Linked DNA regions of Homo sapiens: region 1 is linked to region 2. The links are contacts of gene promoters, found by promoter capture Hi-C in human tissues and cell types (Jung and others, 2019). All regions are on one chromosome and are shown on one strand. Each heading gives the region's core, a stretch centred on a gene start or on the middle of the fragment in contact. The rest is flanking DNA. Distances are from core to core; before and after follow the strand shown. Region 1 overlaps LOC101927314 (a long non-coding RNA gene). Region 2 holds the start of FBXL4 (F-box and leucine rich repeat protein 4).

Region 1 (7,204 bases), core at 1,229-3,728, 1.3 Mb after region 2:
AGCCAGAGAGAGCAGGGGGGAAAGGCTGTGCTCTGGGAAAGGGAACTGGGGGAGGGAGGAGGCGGGCGGTTGGGAGGGAAGAGGATGAGAAAAGAAAAGAGAGAAAAACCAACCAAAAAAGGTTAGGGAGGGTAGGGGTGGGCCAGAGGGTGGGGGCGGTAGCGAAGAGGAACAGACCGAGATGAGTGGGGGGCACTGATACAGTTTGGGTCCTTTTCTTATTTTTCCTATCCATTCTCCAGCGTTCAGTCTTTTGTGTCAGCTTTCAGAAATGCTCTGTTTGACTGGCAGCCTGTCACAGATCAGTTACCACCTAAAGCCGCTTGGCAGCGAGAGGTGACGGCCCAGGAAGGGATCTAAGTGGGTTTATCAGTGCTTCTTTACGCCTCGTGAGCTCCTTGACACAAAAGGAAAGGGTATTAAAGATCTAAAGCGAGCCCAAAAGCGTGAAAGCTCCTTATAGGCTGCAGGATGTGGATGTGACTAAATTTTTAAATATTTTGAGTTGATGCTATTCATTTTGCCAATAGAGTAGAAAGAATTTTTGTTACAGAAATGAGTGTATGTTCCACTTGAGTGAGATTTGGAAAAGGGAGGAAGTCCCTAAAATATGTGCTTAGAATATTACAACCGCCCTGTATTTAAAATCATGCATCTGTTTTGAATATAAATAAAATGAGACGCATTTTAAATAAAAATTTAACATTTACATGATTCAAGTTCATTTTAACATTACAGATTTCACTTTTTATGTTTAAACATTATAATTTAATATTCGGCATTTAATTTTTTTGGTGGAAATGGTAAATATGGAAAAGATCCAGAATTCATTAGTTCTCTGCCATATCTTCTCTCTTGGTCCTTTATGCATGGATTATTATTAAAGTAGTGTATTTTTAGCATGCCAATAGCTTCTCTCAACACATTCCTACAATGATAATGGTCCTACTACAGATATCCAAGGCACAGAGCCGTCCCCTTTTTTACCTAATGATAATATTTACTACTATTTTGTTATCTATCTTAAAAGGCCAAGGCTTCCATGGAATATCATTTGAGACGTATGATAATGAATTATCAATGATAACCTACTTTCTGATATCCAGACCGGACAGATTTAATTTAGAAAATGAGTACACCAAACATACTTCTGATCCCACAAACCACATATGATCATGGCAGCCAGTTTCTCATCACAAGCTATTAACTCTGGCATCAGGAGGCCCTGCATCCTGAATGCCTGCTAAAGGATTCTGGATTTGATTTTTTGTTATAATGAAAATCATGAGAAAATAAGTGATTTTTAATAATGTGTTAAAATAGGAAGTTTTCTAATTTCTTGATTTTACATAGAAAAGGCACCCCTTTTTAGTCCCTTTATTGTTTGTTTGCCAACCTGGTTTCTTTCCCCCTTTTTTTAGACTCCATGAATATTACCAAACCTCTCTCAGAGAAATTCCTGCTTGGCTGAAATTCTCTATTTCTTGACATCAATTTATAGACTAATAGATGTGTGAGGATAATCAAATTCAGCTCTATCATTTTATATATAAATACGTGTTTAAACAGTTTCCTACCTATACAGTGCCCTACATAATCTTACTGAGTCCATATTATTATTATTTAAAAATAAATAAAATAAGATTATCTAAGGAACAAAGAAGTCAAGCAAAAAAAGCACATGGGCAAAGGGATTTTGGGGTCAGAAAGACTTAGTCTTCTAGTTACTAACTGCATGGCCTTAGGTAAGTTAACCCTGACATTAACTATTCTAAACTTGGTTCTCTAATCTATAATGGGGAAAAAAATCTACCTTATAGTGTTGCTATGAGAATTAATGAGATAACACACTAAAATTTGGGGTACAATGAATAGCACATGGTAAGCATTCAATAAATAATTGCTATATTATTTCTAATTATTAGTCCAACCAGGCATCAGGTTGTGCACAGGTGTTATCACTTAAAACAAAGACGCCTGCTTTGTTTAAATTTGGGGTTAAATAGTTCAACTTGGAAACCCTGGTTAGCATTGTGAAAACAATTGTCTGTCAATTGCTTCCATACTGTTATTTATTGTTCTAAATTATCAAGACTTCTACAATAAGTAGAAGCTCTTCATTTTTCATTGAAACTAAGAGTCAAAAAGAAAGAGAAGATCCAGTAGAAGCAGGCTTTTCAGGTATGTTTACCATGAAGCATTCAGAATTTCAGTATGACTTTTACCTCAGTTTCAGAAGCTATAGAATTAAGTTAATTGTGTTACTTTTTATTGTAAACAGGCTATAGTCCCACAAAAACTATTTTCATACTGGCCAACATCAATCAGATCAGTGAGGACACCACATAGGATAGTTAGGAAGATGTAGGAGATGATGTAGGGGGTAAGGAGCAAATTTAAAAAAAAAAAAGAAAAGAAAATTAAAATTTTAAATTATCAGTCAAGGTCTCATTGTCTAACCTCATCTTCAACCAAATTTATCTCATGACTGGTATCTTCTATTAATGGCAATTAATTACATAAAACAGAAAGGAGAAGATCATTGACTGCAGTCTCAATGGCAATTTTTCAAATCCATGACCAGGGAAGAAGGAGGAGCTGAAAGAATGGTAAAGCTTGTTCAATCCCCATATGTGCCCATTAACTTCACAAAAAGAAAACTGCTCCTAGACACAGCCCCAACCGCCGCTGGTCATCTCACAAATGTGCCACTGGTCATGTACAAAAGAATGTGGATGGCTCTTGTCACAACTTCTAAAAATCATGGTGGGAATAGTGACTATGTCTACTTACTGAACAATGCTCAAGTAACCAGTCAAAGGCTTTAAAGATTTTCTTTCTTTGTTTCTTTCTGTTTCTTTTTTGTTTGTTTTATCTCAAACTAATTTGCATTTGTGGAAGGGTAGCATTTTCTGAAGGAGAAAATGCATGTTTTCTTTGCTTCATGATTGGGGGAGCAAGTAAAAAAATGACAATGATTAAAAAAGTGAGATGTTGCACTGAATCAACAATTTGAAAACATAATTTAGAGCCACTAAAATATGCCTACTAGAAAATATTAAAACATCTTTTCAAATACAAGGTCCTTATATCCTCAGAAATTATTTTATATACATAATTTTATACATATATAATTTGATATAGATTGTTCTACAGAAGATAGAAACAATATAGAGAATAAATAAATTTTGATTCAATATATTAAATATACAGATTTTTGGTAGCTCTATATCTCAGTATCCTCAGGTCATTTAATGGAAAACTAGAAATATGCTAGTAAGAGATGGTAAAAAATAAATTATGGTTGATGATATGAAGACATGAGAGGCCTGTTTTAGTAAAAGGCTCCATGTATACCAATCCTCTTCCTAATCCATTAGGACTGTACCAGCATGTTAGCACTCACAGAGCATCATCTTTTCAGCCCAGAACATTGCCATTAATTTATGATTCTATAGCTAGCAGAAACAACCTGGTTGCAAACTTACATGCTCTGGGCATCAAATAAACTAATTAAACCGATCTATACAGTAATTGTCTTCTACTGTTTACTGATTAAAAAGCCCTTGAAATAATGAGAATTCCTTGCAGTAGGAAGGCTTGGACCCATGAGCTATGATGATTATCGGCGGTCTCAGAACTCCTCCTTGAGGACATGAGGTTAAGAGGCGGTGAGGAGGAAGAAAATGCCTGGCCCGCCTCTCAACAGTCACCTTTCTGTCTGGGTCTCTGACTCTGAGACAAGTGTAACTCATCTCAGAGTTTAGAACTCAGATTCTTCATGGTCAATACTTCTTAACCAACATTGCAAGCAAGCTCAGGAGATTCTTTAGATAAATGACTTACACAAGGGCAAAAGCTATAAGGGAAAGATTAGTATAAATATAACTCTATACGAATAGTAGGACATTCTTACTCAATTTGTCCATAATTTATACTTTTTTTCTAAAAATAAAAATCATTTGCTTCTAGATAAAAGAATTTATGATTCTGGCAACAACATGGTGAGGAATATATGCATTACTAGTTAGACAAAAAACAATTTCCAAAGATTTTTAGAATTGTATGGAAGTCTCAACCACCAACATTTGGGGATGGTTTTCTTACATTTTATAAAGAAATGCAAAAGCTGAGATAACATTCTGAACATTTCTCACAACCCTCAGAATCCTGGAACATTGAATAACCTAGGCAATGTTTATGATCACTTTCTGTGCTTAGCCCTTTGCACTCAAAAATACAATATGGTTTACAATTATGTTAGAAAATTTTGTTTTAAGATTCCACAATAATCCAGATCAAGATATATTTTCTGGAGATTCTCAGTAGCACCTGTCAATTATTTCGCTACTGCTTTCACCTTTAAAAACAAAAAGGAAAAGCAGAAGAAAGACGTTTATAATAAATTACTTTAAAAAATGGAGATGAGTGCATTACAGAAATGTCCTTAAGACACCTAATTTCTATTTTTATGTGTGCCTAAAACTTAAGAGCTACTAAACTATTCTCGTGTATATTGTTTTAAAATTTATATAAATAGCTCTCAGGTTGAAAATGCTTGCTAACTTTCTGCATGAACTGAACTATCACTAGGAAATCTTCTCAAAAAGAGTGCACAATGAAAACTCAAATGCAGCTGTTAGCTGCAATTACCTATTGTGGTAAGAGTCATGTCCAACCTCTTGTAAGGTGCTAATGTTCATTTAAAGCCAGAAAGACAGACCCTATTTTTTACTAAAATAGAGGCCCTCGAATCATTAATAACTGCTGTCAACAAGATGACAAAGCAGCTTTTTAAAGTTTGATTTACAGTGTTAGTTCTGTGTTCATATCCCTCATTAGCTCTGATTCATAACTAGACAAGACAGGGCCAATATTACTGCTCTAAAGTGAAATATTATCACAACTTGATTTTTTTTTTTTTTTGCTTTAAATGGATGTGTTTTGTTGGGGTGCCCAAATATAAATTGTCTTGCCTTTGGGACATTTATTTAAATTTTTAGAAAGTAAGTTCTGGTGAATAAAAATAAATAATTATTACAATTTAAAATTCTCCTAGAATTAATTTCTTCCTCCCTTCAATGTTTGGTGACAAGTTAAATCTCATAGTTTTTCTATTTGATGGGCCAATCCACATGTTTTATTTAAAAAAACATAAAACCTGTGCATTATATACTGCCTGATTTGCCTCACAGCATTAATTTGAACACTTAAAGAAGATAAAGCATATGAAAATACCTTATATTATAAATTATACATAAATATACTTAAAAGTACTGTTTTACTGTTATTTTCCAAGTCAAACACAGTCTACACACAGAATATATTTCTTGATTCTACTCCCTATTGCCTTTAGGTGTTTACACATCAATGCTGATGTACCAAGTTCATCTTCCTTTACCCAGCATGGGAGGCTCAAGATCTGGAGAATTCTGGATACTTCAGTTGAGACTTTGAAAAATTAACTTTATCCTGCATAGCATCAGCAATAAGAATCACTAGAAAGCCTGTCTTAAATGTCTAACATTGTAGTTACTTACCTCCTTGGACTAATGTAAAATGTTCTGGAGCCTCCTGCTCTGCTAGATAGAATGGACCAAGGCTGTCACCTTGGAAAGCAAAGGGCAGAGCTCTGAAAATATGACACATAGAAAGGCATTAGAGGGACCTGAGAAAATACCTAAAGCATAGCAAGCTACTTCTGGAGTTGATCCTGGACAGGCAAGGAGAAGTGTAGGTCACAGGAAGCCTAGGAAGCAAACAGGTCCACTGTGTGAAGCACAGCTGGCTGGATACAGTGGGCATTTTGTGCTCTGCATAAGAGCATTCTGTTAAGAGGGCACAGTAGCAGTGAAGGCCAGCCCACATCTTCTCACAGAGATGTGCTCCCTGAAGCTGCCAGTGTGCCCCCATGGGGTCACACTTTTTTCTTGATATTTTCCTGAGTTTGTATGCCTAGGATGGTGCTCTTGCACAGAGGGGTAACCTTTTATATTCTTCCAGCTAGAGAGAGAGAGAGATAAAACATTTTATTTTAATTTGCACACAGGTACAGCATAAACTGCTGGGAGCTCTGGGCTGAAGAATGCCACAGAGAAAATCATGGTAGATTGTTACTTCCAAAGGAAAGACCAAGTGGAAAGAATTTCCTTAAAGTGGATCCTCCTCCTTTAGAGAATTTATGAATTAGCTATGAGGCAAATTTGTGAAAAGCTAAGGATTTCCCAGAACTCTGGAGTTAAAATGGTTCTGTGTCTGAAAATATTTCTAAGTGAAATGATACAATTCTACTTTAAATGTACGGGAAAGACCCCAGATATCACAAGCTGTGGGTATGGTAAGAATAAAGAGCATGTTAGAGCTTCCCAGAGAGAGAGGTAAGAAATCTTTTTTTTTTAATGTGTTTCTCCTACACTATCTGTAAGTTCTATGATGGCAGGTAGTATTAGTGTTGGCCCCTAAAAACCTTTGAACTAGCCGTGCTCAGCACTTGCACAGTGCTTACTATTATCCAGGTAGTGTCCTAAGCACTTTATATGTAATACATAATTTAATACAATAATCCTATAAAGTAAGTACTATTTTGATTCCTAATTTCTGAATAAGGAACTTAATCAACTTGATCGTAAATCATGCATGTAGGGCTGAGATTTGAACCCAAGCAATCTAGCTTAGCCTCAGAGTCTGCCCTCTTAACCACTTCTATAGTATCCTAAATAAATATTTTTATGAATAAATACATGAATTGCATAATGTGGCCAATTCAGAGAACTGTTACGCAGTCTTAATTATATTGGATTTCACATTATTTTTGGTCTCTGGGAAAATTTTAGTTTAGCACCCGAGACTTCAGAAATTGTGCTGCCTGAGTTGCAGTACCTTAAAATGCAGACAATGAGAAAGTTATAGTAAAATGTCTCCAAGTGTTACAATGAGAAAATATAAGTAGACACAGGAGCACACACTTAAAATGTCTAATCTAGTCTGGGCGGATGGGGATACCAGGAAAACTTTCAGAGGAAAGGAATAGCACAACTGAAATGGGATCTAAAGGTAGATCAAGACAAAAAGGAAGGAAGGGTGTTCTTGGCAGAGATAATTCCATGTATGACAAGCAAGTGGATAAAAAATAGGGGAGTGTACCTGAGGAACAGAAAAATAAATTGTTCAGTATATTTTTACCCTAGAATGTGTGAGAGAGAAG
Region 2 (6,417 bases), core at 1,547-4,046:
AAAAATCCTAAAATTTGTATGGAACCACAGAAAATCCTGGATAGAGAAAACAATGTTGAGCAAAAAGAATAAAGCTGAAGTCATCACAATACGTCACTTCAAAATATATTACAAAGCTATAGCAATCGAAACAGCATGGTAGTGGCATAAAAACAGACACATTAACTAATGGAACAGAATATAGAGGCCAGAAATAAAGCCACACATCTATGGTCAATTGCTTTTTTTACAAAAGGTGCCAAGAACACACAATGGAGAAAGGACAGTCTGTTCAACAGTGTTGGCAAAAACTAATGTCCACACGCAGAAAAATGAAATTAGAACCTTATCTCTCACCATATAGAAAAGTCAAGTCAAAATGGATTAAAGGCTTAAATTTAAGACCCAAAACTATGAAACTTCTAGAAGAAAGCATAGGGAAAAGTCTCCATGACATAAGTCTGGGCAAGATCTTATCTTTTTGGTTAAGATCTGAAACACATAGGCAACAAAAGTGAAAATAGACAAATGGGATAACATCAAGCTTAAAAGCTTCTGCATAGCAAAGGAAACAATCAAGTGAAGAGACAACCCACAGAATGGGAGAAAATATTTGCAAACTATTTATTTAACAAGGGATTAATAACCAGAATATTTTATATAAGGAGCTCAAACAACTCAATAGGAAAGCAAAAACAAAAACAAAAACAAAAACAAATAATCCAATTAAAAAATGGGCAGAAGATCTGAACAGGCATTTCTCAAAAGAAGACATACAAATGGCCAACTGGTATATGAAAAAATGCTCCTTATCACTAATCATCAGATAAATGCAAATCAAAACAATGAGATATCTCACCCCAGTGAGAATGGCTTTTATCAAAAAAAAAAAAAAAAAAAAAAAGCCAGGAACAAAAGATACTGGTGAGAATGTGGAGAAAGGGGAACCCGTGTGCACTGTTGGCAGGAATGAATATTACTAGAGCCACTGTGAAAAACTGTTTGAAGATTCTTCAAAAAACTAAAAATAGAACTACTATATGATTCAGCAATTCTACTATTGGGTATAGATCCAACAGAAAGGAAATACATATATCAAAGAGATATCTGCACTTCTATGTTTATTGCAGCACTATTTACAATAGCCAAGATTTAGAATTGACCTAAGTGTCCGCGCAACAGATGAATGGATAAAGAAAATGGGGTACATATACACAATAGAATATTATTCAGCCATAAAACCCTCCACAAAATCCTTTTATTTGCAACAAACATGGATAGAACTGGAGGTCATTATGATGAGTGAAATAAGCCAAGCACAGAAAGGCAAATAATGCATGTTCTCACTCATATGTGGGAGTTCAGAAAGTGGATCTCAGAGACTGAGAAGTATTGGGGGGGTGGGCCATGGGGGAGCAAGGGGAGGTAAACATACACTTAGAAGAAACATACACTTAGAAGAAATAAGACCCGGTGTTCCATAGATCAGTAGGGTGACTACAGCTAACATTTATCAATAGTACATGTCAAAATAGCCAGAAGAGAACAATTTGAATGTTCCTAGCACAAAGAAAAGATAAATATTTAAGGGGATGAGTAACCCAGTTATGCTGATTTGATTACAGAAATGAATCAAATTATCACATATACCCTGAAAATATGTACAGCTATTATGCATCAAAAAGTTGAAGAAAATAAAAATTTTAATTTTTTTGTATACAATGTATATTGCATATCATATATTGATTCTGTTCATATATAAGTAAATATCCTTACTGGTTTGCCTCATTGGAGCATTCAGACAGCAAATAATGTGTAGTTCAACATTTTATTAAATATTTTCCATCTTAGTGGATATTTTGTAACAAGATAAATATGATGCAAACTAAAAAAAGTGCCAAGGGCGGGCGCGGTGGCTCACGGCTGTAATCCCAGCACTTTAGGAGGCTGAGGCAGGTGGATCACAAGGTCAGGAGATCAAGACCATCCTAGCCAATATGGTGAAACCCCGTCTCTACTAAAAATACAAAATATTAGCTTGGCGCCCTTGTAGTCCCAGCTACTCGGGAGGCTGAGGCAGGAGAATCGCTTGAACCTGGGAGGTGGAGGTTGCAGTGAGCCGAGATCGCGCCACTGCACTCCAGCCTGGCGACAGAGCGAGACTCCGTCTCAAAAAATACATAAATAAATAAATAAAGTGCCATACTGAATCTACCAAAAATAAATCAAAATGAGTAAGAGAGGCTGCCAGACCATCTTCTTCATCAGAGGTAATGGTCAGAGGCTTCTGAACGTTGGTATGGAAATGAGCCTGCAGGCAGGATTTGTATGCAGGGAAGAGGAGGTTTGTAAACTAGGTGAATTATACCTTCAGAGTGCATATAATGTATATTATACTTTTCCTCTACGTATGCGTACCAGCCGTATTACCTATGTATCATCTGATCCACCAAGTCTGGACTGAAGAAGTCCTTGTAGGACCACACTACACATGGCGAGCCGGTACTCGGAAGGGATTATTCCGAAGAGGATTTGTAGACACTACCCGCTGTGTATGACCTAGGCCCTTTACACGGGCACCACTGGAGCTAGGAAGCCAGCAGAAAGCTCCTCCCCCTGGCCTGGGAGCGGGCTGTCCGTAGGACCCAGAGCACCTCCCATGGGAGAAACGCCCGGCTTTGCTTCTGGCCCCGCCCCGCCTCCCTCCAGGCCCCGCCCCGCCTCCCCGGCCCCGCCCCAACCCCGCGGCCCCGCCCCTCCTCCCCGGCTCCGCCCCGCCTCCCCGGGCCCGCCGCTCCTCGCGGCCTCCGCGTCTTCCTTCCGGGTCGCGCTAGGCCGGGCTTGCGGCGGTTGTGCCGCATCTAGAGAGTCGGGGAGCCGCCCCCGCACCCAGGCCTTCTCGCGCTGCCTGGTCGCTGGTGAAGCCCGCGGCGCGCGCCTCTCCCGGACCCTGCAGGGTACGGCCCTTCCTTTACTTCTCCCTCCCGTGGGTCTCTGTCTTCTTCCTTTGGCGCCGGGGCGGGGCCGGGGCCGAGCCAGCGCGCAGCTCCGCGCTTTGGGGAGTCTGGACGCCTGGCAGAGGCCCCCGCTGCCCGCCCCTCCCCGCCCGCGGCCCCGCGCCCCCGCGCCTCCGCTTCACGCTTGCGGGGCTTGCTGGGGCCCTTGAGAACTGCTGACGTGCCTCGGGCTCTTTCTACGCTACAGTCTGCCTGCAGGCTGTGAGGCGTCGTTCGGACGTGTGCGCGGCTCAGGGTTGTTTACACCGCGGGGGACTGCGGGTCGCCCCACACCCGCGCTCAGTGCTGCGCCGGCAGCCACGCGTCGGCCACATGCCCGCCTGTGCTTGTGATTCCTGTGCCTGCTGCCTTGATTTCCCTCTGACATCCGATGGTTTTTGCCTAACCAGGCCTGTTTTCTTTCTTCAGGACTGCTACAGGGTGCCCAGCTACAACCTTGTTTCTGTGTTTAGGTTTAGGGGTGCCCCTAGAGTGTGATGATGACCATCTACTTGGCCTCCTTGTCGACATATTTATAACGGGTGGTTTTGGATTTCCTTGATTTCCCAGTAATCATTGCCACAAACCTTCGAGATGCATTCACAGATTGAAATACAGTATACAAATAACTATTATAGAAGGTGAAGATGGTATAAGCCTGTGGTCAGGTAGTTGCGTTGGCAGGATGCCCGTCTGGCTTTGTGCTCCGGAGGGCACATTACCACCAGGTGCAGGGATCTCTGCTTGCTTTGGTCTGTTCACAGACACAAGCTGCCTTTTCTGGTTCTTGCGTGCACTCCTTGGTTTCTTAAGTTCAGCTATAGGTATATATTTTTTTCTTTCAGGCTCACTTCCTGCCTCCATTATCCTGTACCGCATATTGTATCTGTTGGTTGAGTAGAGAGAGATTCATCCAGAGTCATCAGCGCTCCAATAGTCCTTTATCAGATTAAGGACTTGAGGGAAATGTGCATTATGCTTTAGTAGGCACTCTAAAAGTTCCTTGAATTGGATTCTTCTTTCCATACTTATGTTCTGAGTACTAACTTTGTTTTAAACTTCTGCGCCAAAAGTTGGCTTTTCTGAACTCTGCATTTTCAAACTCTTCCCTTCTGTTATTTGAAAATCAGATAAGTCAACTCATTGTAAGATGGATAATTTCTTTACTCACGCCGTGATGAAATAATGCGATTATAGTACTCTGTACAATGGTACATATGGTACTTGCACATATGGTCAGTTAACAAAAACTGCCCCTTCTTTCTTTACTGTGTTAGTCTCATCCTCTTAATGTTGCTGCGGTTAACATTCTCGATCTTAACTTCGCGGATCTAACACAGTGTCCTTTAAAAAAGGCCTTTATCTACATGAATTGTATATAAATATCCACCTCCGTTTTCTTCTAGTATTGTTAATGATCTTATTTATATTTAATGTGAGATAAGAAGGCTCTAACTTTATAATTTTGTTAGTGACTCCATCATCATTTGTTGGAATTCTATTTTTCCCTGCTGATCAGTCCTATAAATACCATAGGCCCTAAATTCCCGTGTATTCTTGGGACTTTCTGAACGGTCTAGTATTCTTTGGCTCCCTGTGGTGATCCTGGCTTCTGTGATGCTCTTATTGCTCTAGGTTTATAATGTGTTTTAATATCTAGGGATTTGAACGATGCCTGGCATATTGTAGACATCACTAAATATTTTTGAAATGAACACATTTAGTGGGGGCAAGTTGATTCCCTTTCTTTACCTCTTGCCTCCCTCCCCCCTTTAAAATTTTCCTGCCAGTTATTGAGATTCATTTATTTTAGCTTGCTTTTTCCATGGTCAGTTGAATCATTAACTGTTAGTAAATAAATCCCTTCTGTTGCTCATTCAGAACTTGCGACTAGAGTTGCTCCTTACAGTTACATAGAGAAGCAGCCTGATTAAAAATCTGCATGCCTTTTGACTTTGCACCGTGTCATAGTAACTGTAGTGTGTCTCTCCCCATCACCTGTGATTTAGGATGTTCTGTACCTGGTTTCTAAGAGAAAAATGGTTATCTAAGAGATAAATGGCTGTAGAAGTGTTCCCTGGGATATGAGGAAGATATCCTCATATCCATTTGTATTTTACCATCACAACTGGATATCTAAAATATAATAAATTTTACACTGGACACTTAAAACTTTATTAGCCCATGAAATAAATGTATGCATTCTTTAAAAAAGATCAAGCAATACAGAAATCCTTAAAGGAGGAAGTGAAAGTGCTGTGTGCCCACCTACCCAGTAACCTTGTTCCATAAAGATGATCACTGCTTGCAGATTTTAAAAATAAATATATTTAAGTCTACTTTTGTTTCATAAATGGCAGTGTACCATCTATAATTTTCTATAGCTTCCACTTAATAATAATTGATAAACATCCTTCTGTGTCAGTGCATATAATAGTATCTTGTCTTTTTTGTAAGTCTTTTGGTATTTCATTGTAGGAATAACCCAAAAGTTATTTAGCCAGTCCCCTGTTGGCATTATTCCAAATTTATTACAAACAGAACTGCAAGGATCATTTTTGTGTTTATTCTGTATACTGTCATGTTTGCATGTTAGTTCATTTCCTAAGATATGGAATTGCTAGGTCAGAGGCTACACATAAGTGTTAAATTATGAGAGATTCTGCCAAAGTGCTCCTCAAAAGTTGTTGGTAAGAGTAAATTTATACAATTTGTTAAAATATTGCTTTTGCCATATCACATTGCCAAGAATTGTCAAGGATCTGAGATCATACCCTACTTGCAAGCTAACAGTTTCATGGAAACTGGCAGAAAATATGAGACTCCTGACTCAGAGACAAAGCACAACAGGAACGGTAGCCAGAGGATCATCTTATGCTGATTTGCTGGAACCCTGATTTCCACAGGGTGATGTGATAAGAGCCCAGTGACACTAGCAGATGAAGTAGGTTATGTTACAGGAGAGGAGTCCTTAGTTTAGGGAACCTGAATCTTTCATAGTGGGCTGCAAATAAAGCTGTCTGATCTTTGCCAGAGAGGGAGACATTATCTTTATTTTCCCACATGGTAAACAAACCTGCCCTCTGTACCAGAGGGAGACATCTCTTTATCTGCCAAGGCTATTTGCTATATAAACACCACTGAAAAGATAAAAAATAAAGGCCGTCAGTGCCTCTACTTATATGATATGCAGAAACTTGAGAGGCCTGCTAAGATGAAATGATTATTTTTTATATTTAGTAATTTTATGGATGAAAAATGCTATTTTATTGTTTTAGTATTGCATTTCTTTGCTTATTGATGAGGTTGACTATCTGTATGTTTGTTGGTCATTTGTATTCGTTTTTACTTGCATGATCATATCCCTTGCTTAGGTTTCTGTTGAAATGTTCCTCTTTTCTAATTGATTTGTAATAGCTCTTTACATATTGTGGCTATTAAT

What was found. Contacts are between HindIII fragments. The study calls those that stand out against the background at their distance.
Region 1: a fragment that was not itself captured here is called in contact with the fragment with the promoter of FBXL4 in region 2 in 1 of the 25 tissues and cell types used here (dorsolateral prefrontal cortex).

The regions. Positions count from the first base shown.
Region 1 is chr6:97,662,053-97,669,256 of GRCh38, reverse strand. All of the region lies in intron 3 of LOC101927314 (a long non-coding RNA gene), which reads right to left. Among named protein-coding and RNA genes, the nearest start is that of MIR2113, 360 kb to the left of the region's middle. RefSeq lists an enhancer at 190-1,048. The HindIII fragment of the contact is 4,876 bases long and covers 41-4,916 here.
Region 2 is chr6:98,944,325-98,950,741 of GRCh38, reverse strand. FBXL4 (F-box and leucine rich repeat protein 4) reads left to right here and starts at 2,796. Exons shown (of 10, transcript NM_001278716.2): 1 at 2,796-2,936. RefSeq lists silencers at 2,375-2,669, 2,967-3,276 and enhancers at 2,402-2,913, 3,717-3,906. The HindIII fragment of the contact is 15,139 bases long and covers 1-6,417 here.